Regions from separate parts of the Homo sapiens genome. Here region 2 is linked to region 1. The links are contacts of gene promoters, found by promoter capture Hi-C in human tissues and cell types (Jung and others, 2019). All regions are on one chromosome and are shown on one strand. The core of a region is centred on a gene start or on the middle of the fragment in contact, and the rest is flanking DNA. Distances in the headings are between cores, read along the strand shown. Region 1 holds the start of ERMARD (ER membrane associated RNA degradation). Region 2 overlaps LOC105378145 (a long non-coding RNA gene).

Region 1 (5,193 bases), core at 387-2,886:
AAGCTCTCTCTATCCTCCCCCTCTTCCGCCCAAAGACAGGATATAAATTCTTTACTGGGGATAACTTTAGACTTACCAGACCAGTTAAGGTACCAGGGGAATCTGCAAACAATTCTTACTCCATTAGTTTCCGAATATGTATCTACCTTCCCAATTTCCTGCCCTTTGAAGCCTAAAACTGCTCTCCTGTGTCCTGTCACTTCTCTGCAAATCTACAGTTCTTTGTTGAAGATGGTATACAAATGTAGTTCTAAGCCACCATTTCAAGTTACTTCTCATTAAGGTTTATCCCTTGTGATGTGTACTCTGTCCAAGAATAAACTTTTTTCTTGTTATCCTTTCATTTGTTAAAGGGGTCACTCCGAACTAAGATGGGCAGAGGTAAAGTTTAGCCTTCCCTGCCATGTAAAAAGTAGCAAACCGTACTGGTTTTCCATGGAGAATTAAATACAATCGAAATCCTCACAATTACCCCACATGACACTAAGACCATCGTATAAACCTGCAAAGAAGTCAAATTCAGGATCTAAAGCGGAACCGAAGCTCTTTATTTTGGTGTGTTGAGTTAAGGGGGGGCTGTGTTGTGACAGTCATAATTAGCTCTGGGCAGCTTCCTAATGTGGAAACTGCTATCAGTTGCCCTGTTTGCTCCTCCTGCACCCAGAAGTTGCACTTTCCACTCTCAGCCCTGGTTTTCGAACAATCCCAGCAGGCCCTAACAATTAAGTCATCACTAAAGAAATCTACATCAACTATTTGTTGATTGGCGATTGTCACTCGCATCCTCCATGTGGCTCTATGGGGCTGGAACTCTGCAGACTACACTGGGCCGGTGCTTTGGAGCTGGACTTAAATTTGAATCATTCCTCAGCCTCTGACTACCTCTTGCCTTGGAAAAGTTACTTTATCGGAATCTCAGTTCTAAGTGAAATAAAACGGTGCCAGGCTGCACCTGGTAGGGCTACAGTAATCAGATAACACATGAAAAGCATCTAGCACATAGTACTCAAAAATGGTAGTTATCGTTATCATCATTTTGGAGACGGGGTCTCGCCGTCGCCCAGACAGGGGTGCAGTGGCGCGATCTCGGCTCACTGCAGCCTCCACCTCCTGGGCTAAAGCGATCCTTCCACCTCAGCCTACGGAGTAGATGGGACCACAGGCCCCACCACGCCCGGCGATGAACACAAATTTACTGTCCGAGTGTGGACCCTACAGGCAGCGACTAGGAAACTGCGCTTCTAGGAACGAGCCACGGTCAGGTGAGAGCCCGACCTGCGGCTTTCCGCCCCCGCGCCACCGCGCACAGCCCTCCCTGACCGTCCGCCGCGTTCCAGCTCAGGGCCAGGAGGCGACGGAGAAACCGAGCCTGGCCCAGGGAGGCCGGCAGGGCCCGCCAGGCGTCTTGCAGGGCCGAGCGTCCGATACCGCCACAGAGGCCAGGGCCGCGACGTCGCCAGCGCCCTCCAGCGCGGGACCGCCGGCCACCGCAGGCGCGTGCTCGCTCGCCCACTCCGCGTAGCCGAGCACCACCCAGCCTGGCGCCGACTCCCTGCCTAGCTCGGGATCGAACCGGGCCCTACACCCGCCCTACCTCCATAACTTCCGGTGCCCCGCTGCGGCGCGCGTGAATGACGCAGGCGCCTGCGCGCCCCTCCTCCAGGCGCTTTGGAGCCCTGGCGGGCACTTCCTACCGTACGAGGCGCAGGTGGGAGACTTCCGCCCTCGCGGGACTGGCTAGGGCGTTTGACCGCCGGCGGTGAAGGGGAGGCGGTGGGCGTCTTGGAGAACAGAGCGAGATGGAGAAGCGAGGCCGAGGCGTGAAGTCGAGCCCCATCCAGACCCCGAACCAGACCCCTCAGCAGGCTCCGGTGACGCCTAGGAAAGAAAGGAGGCCTAGCATGTTCGAGAAGGAGGCAGTGAGTGCGGAGACTGCTAGGGGCCCGAGACGGCTATGTCCGACCGTTTAAGTGAAATCGCTCCCCAGTGGGCCCCGCTCCCGTCACCACCCCCAGAGCCAAGGAGGCAGCATCTCCCTTTTGTGTTTCTTTTTTCCCCAGATGCGAAATTGAAGCCTGAGACTGAGTTGGGCAGTCCCCTTTGGACTTGAGTGCTAAAGTTTTCTTGTTTTTTAATTAGGGCCATAGAACCCTACATAAGTCGATTGGAAGGGTGGTTACAAGATCTTCTTTTCAAATTTACTCAGCTTGCGGATTTCCTGAGAGTACTCTGAGTATTATTGCTTTGTACTAAAACACAGTATGTTAGTGTATTTAGTGCCATTATAAGCAGTTTTGCTAGCGAAAAATGAGTGTGTTGTATTAAAAAAATAATTTGATAAACCAGGCAGAATAGTGCCATGTTTTGGGTTTTTAAAACATCAGCAGTCTGGATATTTGAAGAATGTACAGGAGAAAAAAACTTAAGTTGAAAATACCCTGTCCAAAACTTACTGATATTGATGGAAAGGGTCATTATTCAGTTTTATTGGTGGTATAACAGGTATTTCTATATGATTAGGCTTTGAAAACCGTTAATGTATTAAAGACTCTATATTTTATTGATACTTTAACAGAAAATTAGTTTGCCCAAGGATACAAAGCTGTAATGATAGAGCTGGGACCAGAACCTGTATGCTAGTACTCGGTCCAATTGGCCTATACTGGTTTCTCTTCGTACTTACTTCGTGGACCTATAATAGGATGAAGATAGAGATGACAGGCAAAACAATTTTTTGAAGACCCTAAAACATTTTAAGATTACTCTTAAAAAGAGAATTCTCAAAATAATGGCGAAATTTCAGGTTCTTGTTTCCCTGGTGTCTACATTTTACAGAGGAAAGAACGAACTAAATAAAGGAGGAAAAGCAAACAGGCCAAGTTTACACAGCTAAGAAAAAGAGCAGAGCAGGGCTAGAAACCTAAATCAGTTGGACTTAAAACTTCACACTCCCAAACACTATGCTGTATTTCTTGGCAATGAGTCTGAGTAACAGGTCACCAACAGTAAAGAAAAATTTCTATATATTGAGGCAGACAAGGGTGGCTTTTATAAACTTACTGCCTATCTGAGGTCTGAAGTGGTCTTTAAAATTCAATGAGCCTGAACTCAAAATGAGGAGACACATAGGTGCACCTGGTATATAGGTTAAAATCTGGGAGTGAGGGGACATGGACCAAAGTAATTATTAGTATTTGATATGGATGTGATCAATTATAGCTATCTTTAAAGTTGATTCTTTTAGAGGTGAGAAATTTGAATAGAACAATAATTGGGAAGAAATTGAGAAAGGACTCTACAAATGCTCACTAAATGTACCTGAGGAAACTGTTCACTTAGTTATTTCTAATTTAAGGTAGCTGTTAATTTCCCTATTTTGGAGCATAGGAAAATTTAAGACATACTGTTTCATCAATATGACCATCTCTTGATTTTATCTGTCTTGCCTCCATTTCTTTTTTTCTAGTGGTAGCACCTCAGTTAACTTTTAGAGAATTAACTCATCTGCAATTGTATAGAGCTTTGGTGAGATTGTCAGCTACTTCCCTTAACTTTTTAATAAGGATGAGACCCAAACTAAGCTAATTAGATGAATTCTTTGAAATAATGCAAAGAAAATGATTGAGGTTTATTCACATTGAAGATGAGAAGCTAAAGTGTTCCCTGTGTCTTTCTGAATCTGGTTCATCAGCCTTCTCTGCTGTTATGTAAACTGTATCTTTCCAATAAATTATACTTTGGCTTAACACGAATGAGTTCCTGTTGTTGCGATCAAAGGTAACAAAATGCGAAGTAGATTACTAAAATTGGAAAACGTGATTGTTCTCACTTGTGCACATGCATTGAAATTCTTAAATACAGCCGGGTGCAGTGGCCCATGCATGTAATCCCCACTTTGGGAGGCCAAGGCGGATGGATCACCTGAGGTCAGGAGTTCAAAACCAGCCTGGCCAACATGCCAAAACCCCGTCTCTACTAAAAATACAAAAATTAGCCGGGCTTGGTGGTAGGCACCTGTAATCCCAGCTACTCAGGGAGGCTGAGGCACGAGAATTGCTTGAACCCGGGAGGAGGAAGTTGCAGTGAGCCGAGATCATGCCACTGCACTCCAGCCTGGGCAACAGAGTGAGACTCTTGTCTCAGAAAAGAAAAAAAAAATCTTAAACACTAGCATGTGGCATTTAGAAATAAAAGTAATATCTCCTGCCCAAGCTCATTTTATTTTAGGGCTATATGTAGGCTCAATATAAGGAAATGCTATATCAGTAGAAACTCAGGTATTATTAGATGCCAAAAAGTTGATCATATTTAAAGCCTATTCCCAATTTAAAAAAGATTATAAAGATTCTTAATAAAAGGAATAAAATACTCTTAATAAGTATAGCAAGTCAGCCAATATTATACACAAAGGAGAAATGGTACAGATGTAAATTTTCAGCATATTAGAAGCATTAATGGTTATTTTCAGGCCACACACGAATGCCCCATTTCCTTAAGAATCATTGCAGTTGAAAGCCGCTGTTAATGATACTATGTAGTTGCATCCCTTGAGTATATTGTGGAGGAAAGGAAGGTCCCAATCACTGCCTTAGAGAAGCATTCTCTTAATAAACAAGAACAAAATGATTTTGTTTTTAAGAGGTTTAGGGAGCTAATAATGCTGCTTTTGCAGTTAAGAGACACAGAAGCCTGACAGATGATCACAAGAAGAGATTTATTTATGTGAGGGACTTCTACTCGCAGCCAATATGGAGTAATTCTTATCAGAAACTACTTAAAGTAACACACAAAAATGTATGGAACAATTGTTTCCATTGATTTAGGTGTCAGGCAGGACGAGAGTGATTTCCAAGAGATGAGAAATAGGTAAGGTGAACCCCAATATTGCCCCCACCTTAATTGCCTGGTGAGAGTTTCCAGGCTACAACACAAGGAAAGGCCTCCTTTATTTCAAAAGGAGTTAGGAGCCTGGGAAGCCAAGGTAGCATGAGACTGGAGAGCAGAGTATTAAGACAGGGATGCACAAACCGCCCCAAAGACCTACAGAGGGTTTCCCAGAATATTCAGCTGAGTGCAGCAGTGCATCTGGTGAGGAAGCTTCTCACCAAAGGTGGAGAGTGGAGGTGGAGAAAGAATCACCCAAAAGGAACAGAAAAAAAATCCTTGGACATGTTCCCACCAGAAAAAGTGGAA
Region 2 (4,891 bases), core at 2,077-4,576, 770 kb after region 1:
TATTATGTTGAACTTTTGTATTTTACTTTAGTCTCAACTTCATTTATCTCTGCGCTGATTTTTATTATGTCTTTCCCTCTATTAATTTTGGATTTGGTCTGTTCTAGCTTCTCTATCTCCTTGAGGTGCATTATTAGGTTGTTTATTTGAAGTATTGCTAGTTTTTGATATAAGCTTTTATTGCTATAAACTTCCTTGTTAGTACTGCTTTTGCTGTATCCCGGAGGCTTTGGTATGTTGTATGTCCATTTTCATTTGCTTCAAGAAATTTTAAAATTTTCTTCTTATGTTCTTCATTGACTCATTGGTCATTCAGGAGGACATTGTTTAATTTCCACGCGTTTGCAAAGTTTCCAACAAGCTCCTCTTGTTATTGATTGCCAGTTTTATTCTGTTGTGGTTGGAAATGATTTTTAATATTATTTCTCCTTTTAAAATGTGTTCAGACTTGTTTTGTGATCAAAGATATAGTCTATTCTGGGAATGTTCTACGTGCTGATGAAAACGTTTCATGTGCAGAAGATTTGGGTGCAGCCTTGCTTGTGTATTTTGTTTGCAATGCTTGCGTTCTTCGTGACATAACTAAATTCATTGCCACAATCAGTGTCAAGAAGATTTTTCCCTATGTTTTTGCCTAACAGTTTTATTATTCCAGATCTTACATTTAAGTCTGAAATTCATTTCCTTTTGAGTTATTTTTTGTGTGTGTGGTGTAAGACAAGGGCTTAATTTGTTTTTGCTTTTGTTTTGCTTGTGGATATTCACTTTTCCAAACACCATTTATTTGAAGAGACTATCCTTTCCACACTGTGTATGCTTGGCACCCTGACCAAAAATTACTTAGTAGAATATGTGTGTGGGTTTATTTCAGTTCTCTCTATTCTGTTCCATTAGTCTGTGTGTCTGTTTTTATGACAGTATCATATTGCTTTGTAATGCTGTATCATATTAAGGCTTTAAAATGCAGTTCGCTATCAGGAACCCTAATGCCTCGGGCTTTGTTCTTCATTCCCCAGAGTGTCTTGGCTATATATTTATATACTTAAGTGTTCCAACGTTGAGTGCATATGTACTTGTAGTTGTTATAATCTATTAATGAATTGACCTCTTTATTATTACATGATGACTACTTTGTGTCTTGTGATACTTTTTACTTAAGGTCTATTCTGTTTTGTACAAGTATAGCCACTCCTTCTCTCTTTTGGTTACCACATGCATGGAATATCTTTTTGCATTTTTTCACTTTCAACCAATATGTGTCATCAAAGTTAAAGTAAGTCTCTTGGAGGTACCATATAGTTGAATTTTTTAAAAAGTACTCATTTAGCCACTTATGTTTTTGATTGGAGAATTCAATCCATGTACATTTAAAGTAGTTATTGACATGTAAGGACTTACTACTGCCACTTTGTTAATTGTTTTCTGTTTATCCTAAAGATCTTTGTTTCATTTCTCCCCTCTTGCTGTTTTTCTTTATGATTTGATGATTTTTTGTAGTGATATGTTTGCATCTCTTCTCTTTTTCTTTTGTGTATCTACTGTGCTTTTTTTTAATTGTGTGATTACCAGGAGGTAAATAAAACAACTTATAAATAGTCTACATATAAAAACTCTACATTTTAACCTCTCCACTCACATTTAATGGTGTTGATATCACAATTTACATGTTTTATATATTGTATGTTCATTAACAAATTATTATAGTTATAGTTATTTTAATACTTTTATCTTAAACATTTTTATTACAGTAAAAGTAATTATACACCCCCATTACACTAACAGAGAATTCTGATTTGACTATATTCTTTCCATTAAAGTGAGTTTTATACTTCCATATGTTTTCACGTTGTTACCTGGCATCCTTTCAAATAAACTTGAAGAACCTTTTTTAGCATTTCCTGTAAGGCATGTTTAGTAGTGATTATCTCCCTCACCTTTAGTTTGTCTGGGAATGTTTTTATGTCTCCTTCATTTCTGAAGGTCAGTTTTTTTCAGGTAAAGTATTTTTGGTAGGAAGTTTTTTCTTTAAGTCCAACACATTAAAACGATTATGTGTTATCCCTTTCCCCCTCACCTGCAAAATTTTGTCTGAAAAATTTGCTGATAACCTTGTGACAGTTGTCTTGTACGTGATGAGTAGCTTTTCTCTTGCTTCTTTCTAAGTTATTTTTGTCTTTGAGTTTTGACAGTTTATATATAAAGTGTCTCAGAGTAATTTTCTTTGGATTTTTTTATTGGCAATAATTGAGACTCATGAATTTGGATGTCCATATCTCTTCCAAAATTTGGGAAGTTTTACCAATAATTTCTTTAAATAAGTTTCCTGTCCCTTTCTCTCTCTTATTTCCTTCTGGAACCTCCATAATGTTTATATTTGTTGGTTTGATGGTGTCCCATAGGCTTTATATGCTTTCTCCAATGTTTTTCTATTGTTTCCTCTAACTGGCTAATGTCAAAGAACCTGTCTTCAAGTATACTGAGTCTTTCCTCTATATGACTGAGTCTGCTGTTGAAGTTCTCCATTAAATTTTCAGTCTGTCATTGAATTCTTCAGTTCCAGGATTTCGAATTTGTTCTTTTTATGGTTTTGGTTTATTTATTCTCATTTTATCCATGCATTGTTTTTCTGATTTTTGTTTAGTTGTATATATGTGTTTTTTATACCTCATTAAGCTTCATTAAGGTGATTATTTTGAATTTATTGTCAAGTAATTTCTAGGTCTCTATTTCTTTGGGATAGGTTACTGGAGCTTTATTAGATTCCTTTCATGGTGTTTTGTTTGCCTGATTTTTTGAGATTCGTAGAGCCTGTATTGGTTACTGTGCTTTTGAAAGAATAAACACCTCTACCAGTCTTTAAAGATTGGTTATGGCAAGTAAAGACCTTTCTCTGCCAGTTTCCTGGGCTGATGGAATTACTTCTAGGACTGTAGTAAAGTGGAGTTTGAGGCAAGTTTGGTGACCACTGCTGGGTCTGAAGTGGGTTCTGCAGTTGGCAGACCTGTTATCAGGGATGCTGGCAAGCATGGATCCTGCTTGGTTTATGGATGAATTGGACTGCTTCTGGAACCTTGGTCCATAGGGCTGGTGGACAAAAGTTCATTTCAAGGTCCACAGTTAGGTCTGTAGATTACCTGCCACCAAGTGCACAGGTAGATGTAGTTCCCACTGGGTTACTGGGCAGATCTCTGGGTGGGAAGGTCTTGCCCTGGACTATAGCTGAGTAGGACTGAAATTGGGTGACAGTTACTCTAAGATCCACAGTGGGACTAAGTTTGATGAGCCTGTCTTCCAGAGTACAGAGAGGCATGTCTTCTGCTGGGTCACTGGGCTGGACAATGCACTTCTTTTCTTTGATAATTGTCCTTGTTCTAAAGTCTGTTTTGTCTCAATTTAATGTAGCTACTCCAACTTCCTTTTGACTAGTGTTAGCATAATGGATCTTTCTCTATCACTTTACTTGTGCTCTATGTAAGTGGCTGTATTTAAAATTGGGTTTCTTGTAGACAACATATAGTTGGATCTTGCTATTTTCATATACTCTGACCATCTCTGCCTTTTAATTTTATCTGGCTAGAAGTCAGAATACATTAAATATCTTATCTAATTGTAGGTGTCTAATTGTTTCTAGTTTTCATGTTTTGGTCTGCAGCATATACTATAAGCTTCTGTAAGTGCTCCTTCACAGAGAGAGTCTGTTCCTTGACACTCTTTCTGCTGTAACCCACTGTTATTATATCGAATCCCTGTTAATGTGGTGGTAGAGTATGGGCAGATACTCTAAAATAATCTAGAATAAACTATTTTTTCTAAAGTAACTGTTTCAGAAGTCCTCTGTTCCTGGACTGTGACTTTCCAAGTGTTTATTTGCTTCCTTTCTTCCTTAAGTGAAACATAAAAACTAAAATGAGCTGAAGTTGAATAACTGTCCTTCCTTTAGCTCTGGAAAGGCTCTTGCAAAGGCCTTACCCTTTTGTTATGTAGAAGGCTCTAGTTGTGTTTATAATTGTTACTCTTTCCATCCGCCTGTCTGAGCCAACAGGAGGTCTTTCCTGAGAAGATTTTTTTTCAGATCTTCACCAGCAGAAACTGGTTTTCTTCCTGGCTGTAAAGCCCAGGAAAATTTTGAGGTCTCCATAAGAATACGTTTCCTGGAGTCTCTCAGTCTCACGTTTGTCCAAACTCAGCCTCTGATAATTCACCAAAATGCCATTTAAGTGTTGCTACCATTGATAGCACCTGCAGCTTCTGCTGTAGGTAAGTTTATCTCAGCTGTGATGCTCTGTATTCATCTCTCGAGAGAGATTTGAAGATAGCAATTTGCTCTGCAAACTTAATTCTCTGATTCATCCAAGGGAAGTCAGTGATTTTTAGTTTTTTTTCTTTTGTTCCCATTTCTTCTTCTTTTTTTTTTTTAATTTATTATTATTATACTTTAAGTTTTAGGGTACATGTGCACAATGTGCAGGTTAGTTACATATGTATACATGTGCCATGCTGGTGCGCTGGACCCACTAACTCGTCATCTCTCATTAGGTATATCTCCCAATGCCATCCCTCCCCCCTCCCCCCACCCCACAACAGTCCCGAGTGTGATGTTCCCCTTCCTGTGTCCATGTGTTCTCATTGTTCAATTCCCACCTATGAGTGAGAATACACAGTGTTTGGTTTTTTGTTCTTGTGATAGTTTACTGAGAATGATGATTTCCAATTTCATCCATGTCCCTACAAAGGACATGAACTCATCATTTTTTATGGCTGCAGAGTATTCCATGGTGTATTTGTGCCACATTTTCTTAATCCAGTCTATCATTGTAGGACATTTGGGTTGGTTCCAAGTCTTTGCTATTGTGAATAATGCCGCAATAAACAGACGTGTGCATGTGTCTTT

The links. The method cuts DNA at HindIII sites, captures the fragments that hold promoters and counts their contacts. A contact is called where the count stands out against the background at its distance.
Region 2: a fragment that was not itself captured here is called in contact with the fragment with the promoter of ERMARD in region 1 in 2 of the 25 tissues and cell types used here (lymphoblastoid cells and spleen).

Annotation. Positions count from the first base shown.
Region 1 is chr6:169,748,065-169,753,257 of GRCh38, reverse strand. It overlaps ERMARD (ER membrane associated RNA degradation), which reads right to left and starts at 1,636. Exons shown (of 18, transcript NM_018341.3): 1 at 1,595-1,636. The coding sequence starts at 1,600. DYNLT2 (dynein light chain Tctex-type 2) reads left to right here and starts at 1,686. Exons shown (of 4, transcript NM_174910.3): 1 at 1,686-1,919. The coding sequence starts at 1,800. RefSeq lists a silencer at 4,499-4,699. The HindIII fragment of the contact is 9,893 bases long and covers 1-5,193 here.
Region 2 is chr6:168,978,606-168,983,496 of GRCh38, reverse strand. The region is part of intron 2 of LOC105378145 (a long non-coding RNA gene); the gene reads right to left. Among named protein-coding and RNA genes, the nearest start is that of LINC01615, 180 kb to the left of the region's middle. RefSeq lists an enhancer at 3,701-4,343. The HindIII fragment of the contact is 3,803 bases long and covers 1,425-4,891 here.